7 separate regions of the Homo sapiens genome follow, and regions 1, 2, 3, 5, 6 and 7 are each linked to region 4. Evidence: promoter capture Hi-C in 16 types of primary human blood cells and fetal thymus (Javierre and others, 2016). All regions are on one chromosome and are shown on one strand. Each heading gives the region's core, a stretch centred on a gene start or on the middle of the fragment in contact. The rest is flanking DNA. Distances are from core to core; before and after follow the strand shown. Region 1 has its middle 5.4 kb from the start of PPIF. Region 2 overlaps ZMIZ1 (zinc finger MIZ-type containing 1). Region 3 has its middle 14 kb from the start of ZCCHC24. Region 4 holds the start of POLR3A (RNA polymerase III subunit A). Region 5 has its middle 27 kb from the start of PPIF. Region 6 overlaps ZCCHC24 (zinc finger CCHC-type containing 24). Region 7 has its middle 25 kb from the start of PPIF.

What was found. Contacts are between HindIII fragments. The CHiCAGO score rates a contact against its expected background, and 5 or more counts as called.
Region 1: a contact is called between a fragment that was not itself captured here and the fragment with the promoter of POLR3A in region 4, in 6 of 17 cell types (naive CD8 T cells, non-activated CD4 T cells, total B cells and 3 more). The highest score is 10.8, in naive CD8 T cells.
Region 2: a fragment that was not itself captured here is called in contact with the fragment with the promoter of POLR3A in region 4 in 8 of 17 cell types (total B cells, naive B cells, naive CD4 T cells and 5 more); the score reaches 18.5 in total B cells.
Region 3: a fragment that was not itself captured here is called in contact with the fragment with the promoter of POLR3A in region 4 in 1 of 17 cell types (neutrophils); the score reaches 5.0 in neutrophils.
Region 5: a fragment that was not itself captured here is called in contact with the fragment with the promoter of POLR3A in region 4 in 7 of 17 cell types (total CD4 T cells, naive CD4 T cells, naive CD8 T cells and 4 more); the score reaches 20.0 in total CD4 T cells.
Region 6: a fragment that was not itself captured here is called in contact with the fragment with the promoter of POLR3A in region 4 in 1 of 17 cell types (activated CD4 T cells); the score reaches 5.4 in activated CD4 T cells.
Region 7: a fragment that was not itself captured here is called in contact with the fragment with the promoter of POLR3A in region 4 in 4 of 17 cell types (activated CD4 T cells, neutrophils, non-activated CD4 T cells and 1 more); the score reaches 7.4 in activated CD4 T cells.

What each region holds. Positions count from the first base shown.
Region 1 is chr10:79,340,668-79,343,427 of GRCh38, forward strand. No RefSeq gene overlaps it. Among named protein-coding and RNA genes, the nearest start is that of PPIF, 5.4 kb to the right of the region's middle. The HindIII fragment of the contact is 2,171 bases long and covers 200-2,370 here.
Region 2 is chr10:79,281,292-79,284,228 of GRCh38, forward strand. All of the region lies in intron 8 of ZMIZ1 (zinc finger MIZ-type containing 1), which reads left to right. Among named protein-coding and RNA genes, the nearest start is that of PPIF, 65 kb to the right of the region's middle. The HindIII fragment of the contact is 3,710 bases long and covers 1-2,937 here.
Region 3 is chr10:79,458,364-79,461,288 of GRCh38, forward strand. No RefSeq gene overlaps it. Among named protein-coding and RNA genes, the nearest start is that of ZCCHC24, 14 kb to the left of the region's middle. The HindIII fragment of the contact is 2,074 bases long and covers 405-2,478 here.
Region 4 is chr10:78,028,004-78,030,844 of GRCh38, forward strand. POLR3A (RNA polymerase III subunit A) reads right to left here and starts at 1,512. Exons shown (of 31, transcript NM_007055.4): 1 at 1,361-1,512. The coding sequence starts at 1,404. RefSeq lists an enhancer at 1,432-1,681. The HindIII fragment of the contact is 13,008 bases long and covers 1-2,841 here.
Region 5 is chr10:79,318,637-79,321,336 of GRCh38, forward strand. No RefSeq gene overlaps it. Among named protein-coding and RNA genes, the nearest start is that of PPIF, 27 kb to the right of the region's middle. RefSeq lists an enhancer at 1-272 and cis regulatory regions at 2,439-2,700, 2,465-2,700, 2,480-2,700. The HindIII fragment of the contact is 6,055 bases long and covers 1-2,700 here.
Region 6 is chr10:79,429,161-79,431,860 of GRCh38, forward strand. The region is part of intron 2 of ZCCHC24 (zinc finger CCHC-type containing 24); the gene reads right to left. Among named protein-coding and RNA genes, the nearest start is that of ZCCHC24, 15 kb to the right of the region's middle. The HindIII fragment of the contact is 8,422 bases long and covers 1-2,700 here.
Region 7 is chr10:79,370,887-79,373,712 of GRCh38, forward strand. No RefSeq gene overlaps it. Among named protein-coding and RNA genes, the nearest start is that of PPIF, 25 kb to the left of the region's middle. The HindIII fragment of the contact is 2,962 bases long and covers 1-2,804 here.

The DNA of each region.
Region 1 (2,760 bases), core at 35-2,534, 1.3 Mb after region 4:
CTGGTCAGGCCTATGAAGCCCCACTGTGGCCTCTGCCCCAGTGCAGCCCTCAACTCTCTAGAGATGGCATTGTGTCCACCCCACCACACTTCTACTGTGACCAGCTTTAGTTAGATCTTCTCCGAACACCCTTGATTCGCAGGGTCCCCTGCTCCTTGATTCTCTGCTGAATGGGCTGGGCCTGTCCCCATGGAGCTGAAGCTTCCGCTGTGATCCCGAGATATGCCTGGACTCACCCAGCCCCAGGGCCTGTGATACGGACCCTCTGTCCTAGGAACATAGGCTGCTAGTTGGTCAACTGTTTGAGCCTTTCTGCTCATCTACAATCTGAGATCTTTGTCACATAAATTGAGGCCTCTCTCAGCCTGACCTGCTGATCTTTTGTACTAAAATTCAACAGTAGCAAAGATAGCATTAGAGGCAGGAGCCAAGTTCTGGGATTAAGCAGAGCAAGGCCAAATACAGGCTGTTCCACTACTCACTTAACACAAGGGAAGACCCAGGTAACCTTGGATGGCTTATGACTTCTGCCCACTTTGGAGGCCCTATTTATAAAAAGTAGTTAATACTAGTACTTGTTCTCAAGGGCCATGTGGGGATTAAGAAATAATGTTATAAATCCTTACCATGTGCAGTGTATTAAGTGCAGCAAAAGGTAGCTATTCTTATTACCATAGTGCTTATCTTCTTCTTCTTCTTCTTTTTTTTTTTTTGAGACAGAGTCTCGCTCTGTCACCCAGGCTGGAGTGCAGTAGCTCGATCTCAGCTCACTGCAACCTCTGCCTCCTGGGTTCAAGCAATTCTTCCTGCCTCAGCCTCCCGAGTAGCTGGGATTACAGGCACCCACCATGACGCCCAGTTACTTTTTTTTTTTTTTTGAGACAGAGTCTCGCTCTGTCGCCCAGGCTGCAGTGCAGTGGCGTGATCTTGGCTCACTGCAACCTCCACCTCCCGGGTTCAAGCGATTCTCTTGCCTCAGCCTCCCGAGTAGCTGGGATTACAGGCATGCACCACCATGCCCGGCTAATTTTGTATTTTTAGTAGAGATGGGGTTTCTTCATGTTGGTCAGGCTGGTCTCGAACTCCCGACCTCAGGTGATCTGCCCGCCAAGGCCTCCCAAAGTGCTGGGATTACAGGCATGAGCCACTGCGCCCGGCCTAATTTTTGTATTTTTTAGTAGAGAGGGGGTTTCACCATGGTGCTTATCTTCATTTGAAGAAAAGACAAATACTTGTCATCAAGGGTGGACCATACTGATCAGAAGGTGGACAATATGGATCACAAGGTAAGCATTGTTGACCAGAAGGAGATTTATTCTAATGGAGCAAGGAAAGGTATCAATGTGAGTTAGTCAGTGGAGGTTAAGAGGGTCAAGTCAGTAGATTCATGAAAATTGCACAGACCAAAACAACAGACCAAAAAGGGAAACTGCAGAATTGGAGGCTGCTTGCTTCCTTGCACCCACAAGGCAGAGAGCCCAGAGCTCAGGTGAAGTCTGACTGAGCAGCATTTTAGGCTTGGCAAAGTCTTGGGCCCCACTCCTAGACAACTGGCAGTGGGATCCTCTCCTGAGGATAATGATGCATTGAGAAAAGCCACTGCAAATCAGTAAACAGTAAATAAAGGTGGCAATGGGGCATGCACCAAGGACGAATCTGGACTGGACTTGGCAACCTTGCGGGTCCTGCTGACCAGGTACTTTTCTATTGACTCTGGGCAGGGACTGTGTAAATGAAGTCAGTGTGTGTTTCTATGTTACCCAGCTGTACTGTTGGGTGTCGCCCTGCAGGGCTGAGCCAATGGTAGATTCTCTAGGGTGAGAAGACCCAGTCAGTGGGAGAGAGTGCAGATATGGATTCAGCCAGGCCTGGGTTGAAATCCAGCTCAGCCATCTGGTGTCCATCAGGTGGGGACAACAGACCCTCCCTTGCAGAGTTATCATGAGGACTACATAGGATCATAGATCTCAATCACTAAGCACAGTGTCAGGCTAGCTGGAAGAAAACGGCTGCGTGGAGGGGATGATGTCTGGCACAAGCCAGCTCAGAGGCACCACTCAGAGCCCACCTGCCCCTGGAGACACAGAGCCAGGTGAGTCAGGAAGAATTCCACTCTCCACTTGGCCCTAGTGTGACCTTGGGCACATCATTAATCTCTCTTGGCCTCCATTCCTTTATTTGTAAGACAGGGACAACAAGCTCCACTTTGCAGGGTCACCCTGAGGCTCAGAATGACATCTACAAAGTGCGGAGCCCAGCACGGAGGTATTAAGTGAGGCCCCGTCCCCTTCCCAGAGGCCAACAGGATGCCATGGCCAGACCCTCAGGCCCTCCCGCTGAGGACTCTCTCCCAGCTCCTCCACTCTCCCAAGCTTCAATCAGTCTCCCTCAGAGGCATGAGACAGAAATAACCAGCCCATTCCACGTCTTTACAAAGACAAGGAAGTCCTGTCTCTTGGACCAGTTCTCCCTGACCATGCCCGTGAGGTCCTTGCCAAGAGCTGGTGACCAAGCTTGCTGAGACAGCAGATCCAGGACTGGCTGTGCATGGAGCAATGGGATCTTCCAGGAGTCCTGGCTGGGGTGGGGTACTATGGGTATGAGTTATCCACTGCACATGGCAAATGACCCAACACTTAGTGGCTTCAAACAACAAACATGGATTATCTTGCAGATACTCCCAGAAGGCAAGCTCTGCTGAGTTGTGAGTTGCAGGGGGCTGTGGCCAGGCAGGTTGTGTGAGAGCCCAGCAGCTGAGGG
Region 2 (2,937 bases), core at 325-2,824, 1.3 Mb after region 4:
GGCAGAGCAGGGCAGGACTAGGGTTCATTGACAGGCAGACTGGGCTTTGGGGTTCAGATGGAGGAAGATGGACAGGGCTGACTGTCAGGAGGCTGCCCAGAGGATGGGAGTCTTGAACTTGAAGGACTTCGGCTGGGAGGGGTAGTTGCATTCTATGAATTCAAGCTGGCTTTCCCAAGAAATGTTATGGGCCGAAGAGCCACTGGCCAGCACCCAGTGCCCTGCTGCCTCCATCACCATGGCCTCAGCTCTCTGTAAGTCCAGCAGAATGACCTAGAATGCAAAGCCAGTGGTCTGAGAGCTTGAAGACCAGGCTGGCACTTACTCTTTGGGCCATAAGTGGTCTGTCAGAGAAAGGAAAGCTGTGTGGGCTGGAAGACTCGCTGAGTACTGGTGGCTAACCAGTCGGTTCCGTGGAGCGAGGCTTCCTCGTGGGAGCACAGGGAGGTGGAGGGCCTGCTAGACAACATCCCACACTTTGAATGGCAGAACTGGAAGGAAAATTGGGCCCAGAGTAGGAAAGTGAATTGCCCCAGAACACACAGCCAGTAAAGGGCAGAGGAAGATATTAAACAGCGCACAGGGCTGTGCTATTTAGCTGGTCCTTCAGGGTCAACGAGGTGGTATCTCGTTGTTAACCCAATTTGGAGGGTCTTTTTAGAAGAGGGTCATCTGTTCTGATCCACAGCTCACCTTTTTCCCATTTAATAGCCCGTGTTCCTTCTCCAAGCCCCAGGCTATTCTGAGGACACGTTGTGGTTAGGCAATTGAAAGTTACACAGTCTCTCCTTGCAACCTTTAGGAATTTCACAAAGGATAAATCCCTCATTTCCAGGGAAACTGCAACGGGGTCCAACACCTCATAAGTCCTCAGTGCAATTTCCCAAACAAGACGGAAAGAAAATGGAAGAGAAAGCTGAGCGCTTTCACAATTAGCAAACTGTTTTAGTCCGTCATCCTCCATAATTTTATTGAATGGCTTGGAGGCAGGAAGCTCTTTTTGCCTTTTCATTAAGGCGACATTGAGCTGGAGGTGAGCTTGGGTGAGCTGGGACAGTTGAGATTTGATGCCCGCAGGTATCTGGCTGTTTGAAGGCTCTGGGTCTTTGTCTGAAGGCTCTGAGGACGAACAAATGGGAGAGGATGAGGGAGCCTGGACACTTGCAGCCCCGCCCTGCCCCGAGGGACGGCAGACGCCTGGAGGGTCCCTGGTGACTGTCATATTTGGAGAGCTCGGGTGTCACAATCATGTCTGCTGCAGGCTGCAGAGCTTTGGCACTGCGGCATGAGGCTGTGAGTCAGGGCCTGCTTTCTTCCACACAAATGCTGTGCCTCCCAGCAAGACCCTTGACCTCTTGGCCTCGTGGTTCCCTGCTGATGGGGGACATGGTGCCGCATGAGCAGGATGTCAGGAAAGGGTCAGGCTGCCATAGCCCCGCAGCTATATCTGGGGGTAAGGGTGGTGACGAGGAATACTAATTATCCTCAGTTTGTGGACGTCTGTAGGCTCACTCCCTGTTTTGTCCTCATCACTGGCTGCAGTGGGGCTGCCGTCTATACTCACAGATACCCAGGATACTATACAAGAGAAGGTGGCCAGAGAGGCCTGGCAAGGTCCAGGACCAGTGCCTGGGCAAGTAGGGCACCTTCCAAGTCCCTGCAGTGACCTGGACTTGAAGCCAGTGAAGTCTTTCAACCTCCTTCTTCCAGATTTTTAATGAGTGGTTTAAAAAGCCATTTGTGATTAGCACATTGTCCTTATGCAGATCAGTGTTGCAAAGGTAATTAAAGGCCTAATAAATCTTGTTTATGCTGTTAATTTGATTACAGTCAAAACTCGCTAGGGCTGGGGAAGCCTCCAAGATTGAGAGGTGCCTTCCTCCTTCTTATAGGTGCGGGATTTATGAACCCCAACAGAGAGGCTTCTGGGCGGGAGGGCCCCTGGCATCCCCTGAGTATAGCAGGTCGGGGAACAGGCCCTGGAGCCAGGCTGCTGGGCCTTGAGTTTCAGCTGGGCCATATTCTAGCTGGGTAACTGGCCAGTTACTTACCCTCCTTGTGCCTCGGTTTCCTCATCTGTAGAAGGGGAGTGACAACAGTGGCAGGAGTGGTGTGCTTGTCGCCAAGCCTGGCACACTGGGAGCCCATGGACCAGTCATTATTCCCCTGATCCTCAGCCAGGTGCCATCAAATTCTTAAGTGCTTATTCATGGCCAAACAAGAAAGAAGGGGGCAATCAAAACCAGCCACATCACACCATCTCCACAGCTGCCATTTTTAGCTCGGTTTTGCATAGCTTCACCAAAGCTCAGTTTATGTTAGGGCTTTGTTGCCCCAAGAACATTTTAAAAACAAAAAAAGAAGGAAAGGGGAGAATTGAAAGACCCATAAATCCCTGCACCATCAGTTCCAGATGGCCAAGATGCAAAGGATTTTTTCCTTTCCTCCTTCCTACTGAAAAAGTTTTAACACCCTCTAATATGCAGTTAGCTGCACAAGTTCCTAAGTTTCACCGCAGGGAGGGAAGGAAGTAGGCCCCAGTAATTGTGATGATGGAGAACACTGTTAATGGTTCCCCTAAATTAAACAGGGTGGGAGCTTCAGCTCCTCACTGGCTTGGCATTTCATTAGCAGTAACACTACAGCCTTGCACGGAGACGGGACCAGTATGGCTGGATCAGGGAAATTAATTAGAGTCTGACAATACCCTTAATGGAAATTGGTTATTTCTCCCAAATAAAGCAGCTATTACAAGTGCAAGGGAAGAAATAACTCAGCCCTCCCCCCGCGTTCCTTTCATGAATGTGTGTGTAGATGCTGCCATAGCGGGTGCACAGGAGCCAGGAATCATCACTGCCTTATCCCAGGCCTTGCTCATTTTCTCACATTCAGCAAAACCTCGATCATTGCCCGTGGAGCTGGCACAGACATGTAAAC
Region 3 (2,925 bases), core at 192-2,691, 1.4 Mb after region 4:
GCTAAATTTGAATTTCAGATAAACAACGGATAACTTTTTTTGGTAGAAATGTGTCCCATGCAATATTTGGGAGATTCTTATACAAAAAAATGTTATTTGTTGTTTATCTGAAATTACATTTTAACTGGGTGTCCTGTATTTTGTCTGGCAGCTCTGCTTCTGGAGTTTCCTCAGTTTGCCTTGGGTCATCACCTAAACTATCCTCCGCCTTGGTTTCAGTTTCTGAAAATGGGAAGCACAGTAGATAACGCTCAAGAAAGTTAGGAGGCTAGGAAAAATAAAAGTGCTTGGGAAAGTAGGAAAAAGTGTGACACATGCATGAGGTTGAGCAACTCTCATTCTGCAGATTAACAACCTCCAGGAGATGTGGAGATGGGACCTCTGTCCTCCACCTGCCCCAGCAAAGCTTCCCACCAAAGCTCCCCCACCCTCTTGTAGAATCCCTGCTTGGCCAGCCTCTTGCCATTGGCCACGCCACTTCCCACACTCTGCACTCAACTGCCTGCAAGCCCCGTCAGTCCCTTATAGTTTTACACGAGGGCACTGTCATTTTCTCCACCTTGAGGCTTGCAATCAGCCCGAATGGCTAAGCATTAGGATTACCATATGTCTTGGTTTGCTCAGGACAGTCCAGACTCATGCCTGTTATTCTGGGGTGAATGATCAATTAATAATGCTTCCTTTCACTTTCAAAAGTGGACAATAAATTATATGATGACTTATCACCATTTTGCCCTCTTCGTTCCTTAACTACCTCATCTCTAGGGACTGTTACTTCCACTGTACTCCAGTCCTCAAAGTACTCCTGGCCACACGCAGAACCGCCCCACCTCTGACACTGAAAAATGCAAACATATCTCTTTGATCATAACTCCAGTCCTTCCAACTCCTCTTACTTCTATTTAAAAATAATTATTTTTCTTATTTACCCTACATGTCTTGGTACATTTTGTCAATTTCTTTTGTCAGCATCCCATTAGTCCCATTGGCCTGGGCTAGAGGAGCCACCCCACTTGCCTGGAAAATGTCCAGTGTAGATTCATCCGTTCTCTGCCTTCTCCATACTGGCCTTGGCTGTCAAGGGCTGCTGGAGAACCTTGCACAATCACACAGGCTGGGGGCATTAAATTATCAGTCTCCAGCTTCCACTGGCTCTCAGCAGAGTTCAGCAAGCCTCCAGCTCTCTCTTCATGCTTCTCAAAGGCTATTTCAAACCTTTTTCCCTTTTTTGTTTTTTTTCCAGTTTTCTATCCCACTATCTTTTCATCCATCTGGGCAGGTGACTTTGTCTTTCATATCAGAGACTAAACAGAAGCCATTGAATGGATGGTTTCTCAACATTCTGCCACAAACCTTTCCACTTACCTGTATCAGGATCCATTTTGGGGGACCTCCTCTGTGTTTGGGAATGCTTTCTTCCCTGTCATTCATCCCATATCTTCAACCCTCCCCTCTTTCCTGTCCCCTCATAAGCAATGGAGCATCCCTGGATCTCTACCAGCTAAGGAAAATCCTTCCACTTCTCTAGCTACTCTTTCTGTCACTTCACAACCAAACTTGTATGAGTTTTCTACACTTGCTGTTTTCCCATCTCAGCCACTCACTCATCCCCAAATCTTCTGGACCTCACTCCTACTCCTACCACTCCACTGAGAATGCTTTGAGGAAAGTCAAGATTGCCCCCTCTGATGTTAAATTTCCCAGTTCACTGGCCACACCAGCTCTGACCTGAGCAGTATTTGACACTGCTGTTCACTCAGCCTGGAACTGCCTTGGCCTCTGATACAGTTTGAATGTTTGTCCCCTCCAAATTGCATGTTGAAATATAATCCCCAATGTTGGAGGCAGGGCCTGGGGCAAGGTGTTTGGATCATGGGAGTGAATCCCTTATAAATGGCTGTGTCCCATCCTTGTGGTAATGAGTGAGTTCTCATTATGTGAGATCTCATGTTTTAAAAGAGCCTAGCACCTTCCCCCATCTCTTGCTCCCTCTTGTTCTCTCTCTTGCCGTGTGACACACTGGCTCCCATTTGCCTTCTGCCACAATTATGAGCTTCCTGAGTCTCCACCAGAAGCAGATGCTGGCCCTATGCTTCACGTACAGCCTGCAGAACTGTGAGTCAAATAAACCTCTTTTCTTTACAAATTACCCAGTCCCTAGTGTTACTTTATAGCAATGCAAACAGACTAACACAGTTCCTCCTCTCTGACCACTGCCTGGCAATATCCTTTGCAGGCCTTGTTCTTCCAAGCCTTAAATGTTGGTTCTTCAGGATACTGAAATCTCTCAGAGGTACCTTATCCAGTTTCATTGTTCCAATGACCTTTGCGTTGGTGAATCCTGTATTGGTGTTCTGTAGCTGCTATAACAAATGGAAACCAAGGTGTCGGCAGGGCTGCCCAGCAGAAGCTCCACAGGAGAATCCATTCCTTGTCCCTTCTAGCTTCTTGGTGGCTGTTGACATTCCTTGACATGCAAGCTTGTGACCTCATCAGTCTGCCTCTGTGGCCACGTCACCTCTTCCTCTGTATGTCTGTTCTCTTTTGCGTATCTTTTAAAAGGACATTTGTCATTGGGTTTAGGGCCCACCCAGATAATCCAGGATGATCTCACCTTAAGAGCCTTAACTTAATTATATGTGCAAAGAAGCTTTCCAGGGATTTGAGGACAGACAGAGAGGTTCCAGGAATTTGATGTGGATATCTTTTGAAGGGGCCTACTACAACTCCCCTATCAATTATAAATAGGTCCATTTGCATATCGGAGAAAACCTCAAACTCATTATATCTTAAACAATACAGAAGTTTTTTTCTAATATAAAAACAACCTGGAAATAGGCCTCTAGTGCCAGTGTGAAAGTTCCATGTGTCATCAGGGGCCCTATTTCTAAGCTTCTCTTCTTTCTCTTCTTTCTTTCTCTTATT
Region 4 (2,841 bases), core at 262-2,761:
GGAGAATGCTGCATTCACCTAGGTAAGACACCTGTTCTAGTGAATGGCAACCATCCACACAGCTGCCCAAGCAAGGCATTCTGTATATCCGTCTCAAGGTCTCTCGACCTCTAATTCTTTCCACCATGAATCAAGAGATTTTCCAGAAGGAGAACTCTTATCAAGATACTCTCCTGTTGAAAATCCTTCAAAGGTTCCTCACTGCCTACAAGATGACTTCTTAACACAGCTTCAAGTCTTCTGCTTCCTTCTGATCACCTGTGTTCTCTCCCTCAGGTCTGCTCCTTGAAAAAAGCAGTTTGGTCTGCTTTCTTTTGCCTGGACCCATTATGTGCTCTCAAAACCCCCTGGACCTACCCTTGTCATTGCACTTGTCGTACCCAGTGTTGACTTGTGTACCTTCTCCAACTAGATTAGGCAGTAAAAGTTTTATTCAGACCGTATCTTTAACGTCCAACACTGGGAATAACGCGCAGTATCCTCCTCAGTGTCTGCTGTAAGAATGATGAATTCACTTTTTTTTTTGAGACACCGTCTCACTCTGTCACTCAGGGTGGAATGCAGGAGGTTGCCCACTGCAACCTCTGCCTCCCAGGCTCAAGTGATTTTTCGGCCTCAGCCTCCCGAGTAGCTGGGACCACAAGGGCGCGCCACCACGCCTGCTAATTTTTGTATTTTTGATAGAGACGGGGTTTCGCCACGTTGCCCAGGCTAGTCTCAAACTCCTGAGCTCAGGAGATTCACCCGCTTCGGCCTCCTAAAGTGCTGGGATTACAGGAGTAAGCCACCGCGCCCGGCTGGATTCACTTTCTTACCGAGAACTCTAAGAAGGAGCCACCGCCTAATAACGTATTTCTGAAGGCAAAAGTCCGGATAGCAGCTTTATTTCTGACACTGCCATCCGTCGGCCTGTGGTACAGCTTTCTAGTGGGCAACCCCATCCTTTTGGTAAGCAACTACTGCCTCCGTGTCAGACGCTCTGCGGCTGACAGAATTAGAGACAGTCCCCGCCCCAGATTGCTCCCCTCGCTGCAGCAGGGGATAGTTCGCTGAAGAACAGGGATCATTGTATGACTTCAGGAGAATGCGAGCTTTGGCCCAGGGTGCACAAATCATTAAGGCTCAGGCCACTCCGACTTCTCCGCCCAAGTCCAGGGACCTCTCGAGGTGCTGAAATCCCCTCAGCCTGACCAATGCTCTTTGACCAACGCTGGTAGTTCTGGGCGCTGGTCACACCTATGGACTACTGGCCCTCCCCTTCCCATTGCACCCCATCTCTGACCCTGCAAGACCCGGGACCGCTGACCTCGGACCCCTTGCCCTATTTCTCAGCCCTTTGGCCACTCTTACTCCGTCTTACATTTTCTTGGCCACATCCGTCTCCCGGAACTGCTCCTTCACCATGATGACCGCTGCCGGGACGCCTCCTTGGCACTCGGGAGGCCAGATTAGAGAAACGATGCCCCCAGCACCTCCTGGGGCTGCTTCTGGACTCGCCGCTAACACATCTGCGGCATCCTCTCGGCCACCGTAGAGTGTCCCACGTGTCCGCTTCCTCTTCCGCTACTCGCCCGCGCGTCTGTCTGTCAAGAGAGACTTCCGGCATGCCTTTTTTTTTTTTTTTTTTCCCTTTCCCCGCACCGTCACCTGGTGGCGCTTACTGGAAGCCGCACCGAGGCGTGTGCTGTATTTTAAAAATCCCATTTCTGGTCAATTTCTCCACGTAATCAGACACCCGCAGAGAAACTGCATATAACTCTTTGCCTCAAGGCTTTTAGACAAGCAGAGGGCCAAAACTTGCATAAAATGGAAAATCATCATCATTAACATCAGTACCATCTAAATTAAGAGCTTCTAATTGTTTTAAGGGAAGGTGGAAGCTAAAATGAACCGGCCCATCCAACAGAGGGCACTATCTGTGGAGGACCAACAAAGGAAAACAGAGCGGAAAATATGGGCGCACATGTGCCTCCAGTTCATGAAGTTATTTGGAGGGAGGGGGGAAGAATTAAACTTACATTATTGATTACAAAAACAGTTGAAAATCTGTTAGAGTGAAAACAGCCATGGTAATCTACAGAAGAAAAGGGAGAATGGAAAGTAAAGATCATTCATGTCTTGAAATAAGTTGTCTACAGTCTGTGAGAACTTGTGGGAGGTGATCCTAGTGTGATATATTAGTGCATGAGCCTAGCAAGGAAATCACATCACCACAGGGCTTAGCGCTTAGAATTAGAACTAAGTCCTCATTATTTGTGAGAAACTCAAAACAGAACTTAACAAAAGTGTTTAACAACTTTCAATTTTTAAGAAGGGACGCTATCTCATTTTCAGACGCCATGGATCCTCACTAGCAAAACACAATGTCACAGACAAACGAGGCATATCAGGTTTTTCTAACTCATTTCGGTACTCCATCACTTAATCATGAAATAATGTTGACTATATATATATATATATATATATATATATAGTCAACATTATGGGTTTTTTTTGTTTTTTTTTTTTTTTTTTTTTTGAGACGGAGTCTCGCTCTGTCGCCTAGACTGGAGTGCAGTGGCGAAATCTCGGCTCACCGCAACCTCCGCCTCCCGGGTTCAAGCGATTCTCCTGGCTCAGCCTCCCGAGTAGCTGGGACTACAAGCGCCCGCCACCACGCCCAGCTAATTTTTGTATTTTTAGTAGAGACGGGGTTTTACTATGTTGGCCAGGCTGGTCTCGAATCCCTGACCTCGTGATCCGCCCGCCTCAGTCTCCCAAAGTGATAGGATTACAGGTGTGAGCCACCACACCCGGCTCTGATGTTTACAATATTATACCAACAAGGGTTGGATCGTGTGT
Region 5 (2,700 bases), core at 162-2,661, 1.3 Mb after region 4:
CTCCAAGGAGTCTCATTCTATCAGCCCGTTAACCCTCCCCATACCTCTGCCTCCCGCCTCCCCGGGTTTAGTGGCCCAGGCTCTGGCATTGCAAGGTTCAGCTTGGTCTGGGCTCCACCCCTTGATGGCCAGTCTCTGCTCCTTCCCATGCAGGCTTCTCAGCCACAAAACTGCCAGTGCCCACTCTCTTTCTCTGTCACCCTTCATATGCCTGGTTCATGCCCCACCAGTTCTCTGACACTTCTCCTGCAAGCTCACCAATGGCCTCTTCGTTGCTGATCCACGCTGCTTTCTGAGACTGGACCTCACAGCTGCACTTGACAGTTGCCATTTCTTCCTTGAAGCTCTCTTCTCTTGGTGCTATGGTTTGAATGCTTGTCCCCCCCACCACAACTCATGGTGAAACTTAATCCCCGGTGTAACAGTACTAAGAGGCAGGCCCTTGGGTCATAAGGGCTCTGCCTTCATGAATGGATTGATGGATTAATGAGTTGGCAGATTCATGGGTTATCATGGGAGTAGGTCTCTTATAAAAGCCAACTTGGCACGCGCTTGCCCTCCTCGCCACATGATGCCTTCTGCCATACTACAATGCATCATGAGGCCCTCACCAGATGCAGCCACCCAATCTTGAACTTCCCAGCCTCCAGAAGCATGAGCTAAATAAACTGCTTTTCTTTATAAATTACTCAGTCTCGAGTATTCTGTTAGAGCAACAGAAAAGAGATGAAGACACTTGAATCCATGACAACTTCCTCTTTCATCTGTTTAGTTTTCCTGGCATCCCTCTGTGCCTTCCTTGTCTTCTCCGCAGGTTCCTATGGTAACTAGGTACTTGTGGTGCTTCATCAGGATCTTCTTCACCGACTGGCCCACCCATCCTGCCGCTGCTACGGGTGTTGGCCGCCAACAGCCCAGAACGTGCCCCTTTATCAGAGAATTTCCCTCAGCTCACAGAAACCTCCATGCCTGACAGGTTACCTGCCCCCTATCCCCACACATGCACCCCTGCCAGGCAGCGCACAGCCAAAATTGACTGCCACAAGGAATAAAAGGCCTCTTGGCTGGGGCATGATCAGTGCTCTCAAATCCTCCCTGTGGGTCAGGTCAGGGCTAGACTTTACCTGAGGCCACATGCTAACTCCACTCTCTCCCCTTCCTTGTTCTGCCTGCCTCCCTCATAGGTTTCTCCCAAGATCACTCCCTCAATAAATCATGGAATCAGCATGCCTGTCCTATGCTCTGCTCCTATCCAGATCGAAGACAGTGGGTGCTGGGAATGGGTCTGGGAGGCAGGCTCTGAGGATAGGATGCTGGAGAGGTACCACTGACCAGATGACAATGAGGACCCACCACTAGTGGCAGGAATTGGGTAGCAGTGTGCACCTGTGGTGAACTGGGATGGGACACAGGTGAAGGAGCTACACAGCCACAGCAATGTATCCGGCATCTGAGAGATATGGGCAAAGAATAACTATTAAGACTATGGACTTGCTAAATGTGGCTATTACTAAATGTCACCAATGCATTGAAGAAAGGAAATTACAGTTACAAATATCTTAACTGGCAATTTAGAGTGTGCGCATCAGAGGAAACTTCTTGGCAGGAAGCATTGGAAAGCGCTTACCTTCTGCAGCCAGAGGGCAGATGGAGTGACAATCAGGCAGAGGACTCATTGGAAAAGCAGCAGAACTTGAGTAAAGGCTGAATTCTCCATCAAGGGAGGTCTCCTATATCCAAATCAGGCCCCTGGTAGGGAAGGAGACACCAAGACTTGGGATGAGGACTGTCATACCAATGCCTCTCACAAAAAATGTTTATTATGACCAGCTGACAGAGAAGGGAAATTCTTGAGTTTGGGTCACAGATGGGTTGACTTGGCCTGTGGGTGTAAGCCAAAAATGGACTGAGCCTGCACTACAGTGCCATCCAAGGGTGGCCCTGAAAGATGTTGGTGAGAGAAAATCCCTCCAATAGGCAGAGATTTTGCCAAAGCACCTGGTCATCTCACGGCAAGAGAAGAGACCTGAAATAAGGATATACTCGTATTCATGGGCAGTGGTGAATGGCTTAGCTCTTTATTGGTCAGGGGCCTGGGAAAAACAAGTCTGGACTATCAGAGACAAAAAGGACTGGGAAAGAGGCCTGTGGATCTCTGAGAGTGGCAAAAAGTACGAAGATAACGTATCACATTTCAATACTCACCAAAGAGCATCCATTGCAGAAGCAACACCAAACAACCAAGTGGGCAGGATGACTCGGCCAGTGGACGTCAGCCAGTCTCTGTCCTCACTCGTCATCCTCCAACCAGTCCTTGCACCATATGGGCTCATGAACAGAGTGCCATGGTGACAATGACGAAGTTATATATAACCCTAACAGCCTTGGCTTCCTCTCCCCAAGGCTGATCTAGCTACTGTCACTGCTGAATGCCCAACCTGTCATCAACAGAGACCCAAGCTGAGCCCGTGATACAATAACATTCCAGGATGAAACCAACTAGCCACTTGGTGACAAGTTGATTATGTAGGACCCCTTCCCTCATGGGAAGGGCAGTGATTTGCCCAGACAGGATGGATGCATATTCTAGGTATGAATTCACTTCTCCTTCCAATGGAGCCTCAGGCCATTGGCACTATGGCTCACCAAGAGTCTGATTCACTGACATAGGCCCTCAGTTGACATCATTGCAGACTAAGA
Region 6 (2,700 bases), core at 16-2,515, 1.4 Mb after region 4:
GTGAAAGAAGCCAGTCATAAAAGACCACATGTTACATGATTCTAGTTATATGAAATGTCCAGAATAGACAGATCTACAGAGAGAGAAATAGATGAGTGGTTATGGATGCGAGGGGATGGATGATCAAGAGGTGACATCTGGGCCAGGAGAGGTGGCTCATGCCTGTAATCCCAGCACTTTGGGAGGCTGAGGCAGGTGGATCACTTAGACCAGGAGTTTGAGACCAGCCTGGCCAACATGGTGAAACCCCATCTGTATTAAAAACAGAAAAATTAGCCGGGCATGATGGCAGCACCTGGATTCCCAGCTACTCGGGAGGCTGAGGCATGAGAATCACTTGAGCACAGGAGGTGGAGGTTGCAGTGAGCCAAGATGATGCCACTGCACTCCAGCCTGGGCAACAGAGCTAGACTCTGTCTCAAAAAAATAAAAAAAAGAGGTGATACCTAAGGAGTATGAAATTCCTTTTCAAGGTGATGACAATGTTCTCTGATTGAGGTGACAGCTGCACAACTCCAGGCATATACGAAAATCACTGAATTGTACACTTCAAATGGGAATTATATGGGAAGTGAATTGTATCTCATAAAGCTGTTCCCAAGAAAATCCTTCTACTTTTAAATATTATAGAAATTAGGTTCTAACACACTATTTCATTTGTGACACAGGTTTCTTTCTGTGGTTTATAAAAGCCCTGTCAACCCGTTCCTCCCTTCAGGGAGCCTTGCACTGAGCACCGCTGCGTGTGAGGTCCCTTGAGCTGGCGTGGTCAGATGGTGAGGAGCACAGAGATGAATCCAGCCCAGCACCTGCCCCTGGAGCTATGGCCAGGTGAGGGGTAGACAGCATCCAATCAGGTTCTAGCCTGCCCAAATACCTAGTGCCTTGCCAGATGGGTGCACTCTTCATAGTGACCCAAAGGAGAAAAAAATGCTAGCCAACATTTACTAAGCACTTCCTGTGTCCAGGCACTGTGCTAAGCACCTTCCATGCATAGTTTCACTATGTCCTCACAATACCCTGGGTGTCAGTGCTCTCCTTAGCCTCATGGGACAGGCGACGAAACTGATGCTGCGAGCCTCTGTCTGTCCTCCCACCACTCATGAAGGGAGGAAGAAGGTGCTTGGGCCTTCACGAGTCCAGGACAGAATCAAGTTTGGAATGGAGCCAGGAGAAGGCCTCAATCAGCTTGAGTGAGAAACTGAGGCCCCACAGACCATGCAGGTCTTAGCTTGGAGTGACAAGGAGCTTAAGGAGGCAAAGAATACAGAAATCCTGAGACTGGGGATCTCGTATACATTCTGCCCTCTCCACCTCCCCAAGACTGTAAAATGAGGCCTCTGCTCCTCCTTCTGCCGTAGAGTTAAGAGTCCAATATGAGATGATGATCTCTATGAAGGAAGATCCCACGTTAGCACTGTGCTGGAAGGTGCCAGGGACCTTCTGCCCCAGCATTTAGAAGAGCGCTGGCCCTGTCAGGAGAGAGGATGGTGCATGCATGTGCACATACACTCACACACACACACCACACACACACACACACACACACACACCCTCTGCTATCCCCGGGCCTCTGGCTCACATCCATTGCCTTTGGATATTGGTCACCCTGGGGGAGGCCCTGCCACCCTTCTCCAAAGCCCTTCTCCTGGTAGCATTCCCAGGCTACCAGCCCAGAGTAAGCATACCTCCTCGGGGCTCCAGAGCCCCTGTTGATGTCTGAGTGTCACCTGCCTGCCTGGATTAAAATCCCAGCTCTTCCATTGATAGCTCAATAATCCTGTGTGAGTCCCTTCCTCCCTCGAAGCATCTGTTTCCCCATGGAAAATGAGGCAAATAGAGCACTTAACACATAGAGTAGTTTCATTAAATGAAATACTGCTTGGAGAGCACTCAGCACAGTGCCTGTCTCCTTAACGGAGCTCAGTCTGGCTCTGCCCACTTCCCAGGCTGTAGGCAGGGGATGAGGGAGGGCTGCTGTGGATGGCTGTGTGCACATGAGCTGGGGGCCCCTGTGCTGGGGCTCAGCTGGACAAAGTGCAACAGGCTATGGACTGCACAGGCCATGAGCATGCCCTTAAGGACCAACTAGATCCTCAGTTGCCTGTTTGCCCCTCATTCTATCCAGAGAACCCCAGGGGGGCTGAGGGTACTCACTCTCTGCTGGGAGCCAATAGCCTCCTGCTTACTGTGTATATTGAGGGGGAGGACAGGACCCACTGGAGATGTGGGGTCTGCAGGAAAGTCGTCAGTGGGTCAGCTCCCACTATGTATGCAGAGTCTGGGATGGGGGCACACAGATCACCTGGGGACCTTGCTAAGATGCTGCTCTGAGAGCCTGCAATTGTAATAGCTCCCTGGAGGCACTGATGCATCTCTGCCAGGGCCGTACTCTAAGCGGCAAGAACCTGAAGCATGGTGTGGCCGTTTCTGAGCAGGGTTTGGGAATGTAATGAATGACAGCACATTTTGGCCTCCCACTGGTCCTGAAGGGACCCAGCCCCACCCAACCACACGTCAGTTTCCAACATCTGGAGGGGAACACTACATGCATTTCCAGAGTTTCCAGGATTCCATTTCCATTACAAACGTAAAATAAAAGTAATGCCACATTATAAAAAAAGTTGGAAAATAGGAAAAACTAATAGGAAAAAAAATCACTGATAATCTCATGCTGTACTTAAAATGACTACTACCCTC
Region 7 (2,826 bases), core at 74-2,573, 1.3 Mb after region 4:
TTATCACTTATATTTAATGTAATTCTCAATATAGTTAAATTTAAACCAACCATCTTGCTATTTATTTTGTTTGTCCCATCTGCCTTTTGTTCTCTGCTTGCCTTTTTTTGGATTGAGGTTTTTCTCCAAATTGATTTCATTTTTATCACCATTATTGGCTATTTGTTTATATATATGTATAAAATGACAAGTGTTGATGAGGATGTGGAGAAACGAACCCTCATACATTGTTGGTGGAAATGTAAAATGTCACAGCTATATATACATATATATAATATATATTTATATATATAAATATATGTTATATATATAAATATATATTTAAGAGCTGGGGTCTCACTCTGTAACCCAGGCAGTAGCACAATCATAGTTCACTGCCATCTTGAACTTCTAGCCTGAAGAAATCCTCTTGCCTTAGCCTCTCAAAGTGTTGGAATTACAAATGTGAGCCACCATGCTCAGCCTAATTATTCAGTCTATATTTTTAGTGGTTTCCCTAGGATTTACTATATATTGTTTAACTTATCAAAGACTAACTGCAAATAGTATTATACCACCTTACGTATTATGTATATATTGCTGAATCAAATGATTAGGTTTAACTTTTTTAGGAATTGCCAAACTGTTTTCCAAAATGGCTGTGACACTTTACATTTCCACCAACAATGTATGAGGGTTCCAGTTTCTCCACATCCTCATCAACACTTGATATTATCTTTTTTTATTCTTGCCATCCTAGTGAGTGTGAAGTGCTACTTCATTTATTTCTGACTTGCATTTCTCTGATGATTAATGAGGTTGAGCATCTTCTCATGTACTTATTGGTCAGTTGTATATTTTCCTTGGAGATGAGTCTGTTCAGATCCTTTGACTTTTTTAACTGGGCTATTTGTGTTTGTACTTTTGAGTTGCCAGAACTCTTTATATATTCTAAATACAAGTTCCTTATCAGATATGTGATTTTCATATACATTCTCTCATTATGTAGGGTGTTTCTTCACTGTCTTGATGGTGTCCCTTGAAGCACAAAAATTTTAAATTTGGATGAAGTCCAATTTATTTTTTGTTTTCAAAAGCACTTTAGGCTTCCACACACTATTTCAAAAATAAAATAAAATAAAAGTTCCTTTGTGGAGAGATTTGGATATCTTTCTCTTATGGATTGTTTCTCTTTCTGATGAGCCAGTATTCTGGGGACTGGGCAGGGTGGTAGCCTCTGATATTCTTGGCTTTCCTCTCCTAGCATAGAACCTGTGCTCTATGAGTGAGCTGGAGCAAGATTTGGGGTCCCAGTGTTTTTGGCCTTCTGAATCTGGGATGGAGCCACTATTCTATGGGTTAGGGCTGGGTGTAGAAAGAAACCCCCCACTTCTCAGCTGCACTCATCCAGAATTTAGCTTCTTTAACTTGGAGTTGGGAGAGATGGGCAAAATGTTATTGGTCTGCCTCTCCCACTAATATGTGAAAATACTTGATTGGGAAGTGAGGGGAGAGGGAGCCTTGTCTTTTTGGCCACCCTCACCTTATGAGAAGATTCCATTAAGCTGAGCTGAAGGTGAAGGAAAAGGGAATAGTTATGTGTCAAATGCCATAGACCTGCTGTTCTTATTGAGTTAGTTTTAGTGACGTCCCCACATACTATCTTTATAGTCATGATTACTGTTATGGTCAAGGGCTGCTTTTGCTCCTGGCCGGGAGATGAGCTCAAAGGTGAGCCAGGCCGAGGAGATGCCCCAAGGCAGAGTGGGAGCCTGACTTTCTTCATTTGCTCTATATCCTTAGGACAATTTCCAGAGACTTTAAAGGTTAATTTTTAAAAAGCAGTTTTCACCAACATTGCTTGTTTCACAGGCAAGTGGGCTCATGGAACTCTTCACATTGCCTCCAAGAAGTGGAACTCTTCACTTTTTTACTTTTAAGTTATTTGTATCTTTATGTTTCAAGTTGAATCTATTAAAAGGAATAACCTTAGACAAGTTAAATTTAACAGTTTAATTGAGCAAAGAGTGATTCATGGATCAGACAGTTTTTGGAACCAGAACAGGCTCTAAGAACTCCAGCCTGAAGTGTGGTGGGATACCCACATTCCCCTCCCAAGAGAAAGCAGCCAGGCCAGGTGCCCTCAGAGAGCGCCAGAGGAGGAAGGCGGGTCTGGCCTCAGCCTTCTTCTCAGTTTCAGTCTCCCCGACCAGGCCCTCCCAGGTCTAAGCAGGAGAATCTCAGACTGTTCCTCCCCACAATTGTGCAAGTGCTTACTGGACCCCATGCCCAAGAGAGCTGTGTGGTCCCCCATGCCCCTTTCTAGCACTAGCCTAATAAATTGTATTGATGACCCCAGGGCAGCCTGTAGGCTCTATCAACTCAACATGGAATAATCGACTTGGGAGCTTGTCAGAGCGAAGGATTCGAGATGGAGCCCAATGCCTGAGTTTGATACATTGGGACTGAGGCCTGGAAGATCACAAGGATGTGATCAAAGATAACAAGAATAGGAAGACAAATAGAAAAAATAGAAAGACAAATGCCACATGATCTCACTCATTTGCGGACTTTAAAAAGCTGATGTCATAGAAGTAGAGAGTATAATAGTGGTTACTATGTGCTGGGGAAGGAAGGCGGGATGGGGGAGATTGGCCAACAGGTACCAAATTACAGTTAGATAGGAGGAATCAGTTCTGGTCTTTTCTTGCACAGTAGCATGACTGTAGCTAAGGACATTGTATTGCATATTTCAAAATAACTGGAAGAGAGGGTTTTCAGTGTTCTCACTACAAAGAAATGATAAATGTTTGAGGTGATGAATAAGCTTATCACCCTGATTTGATC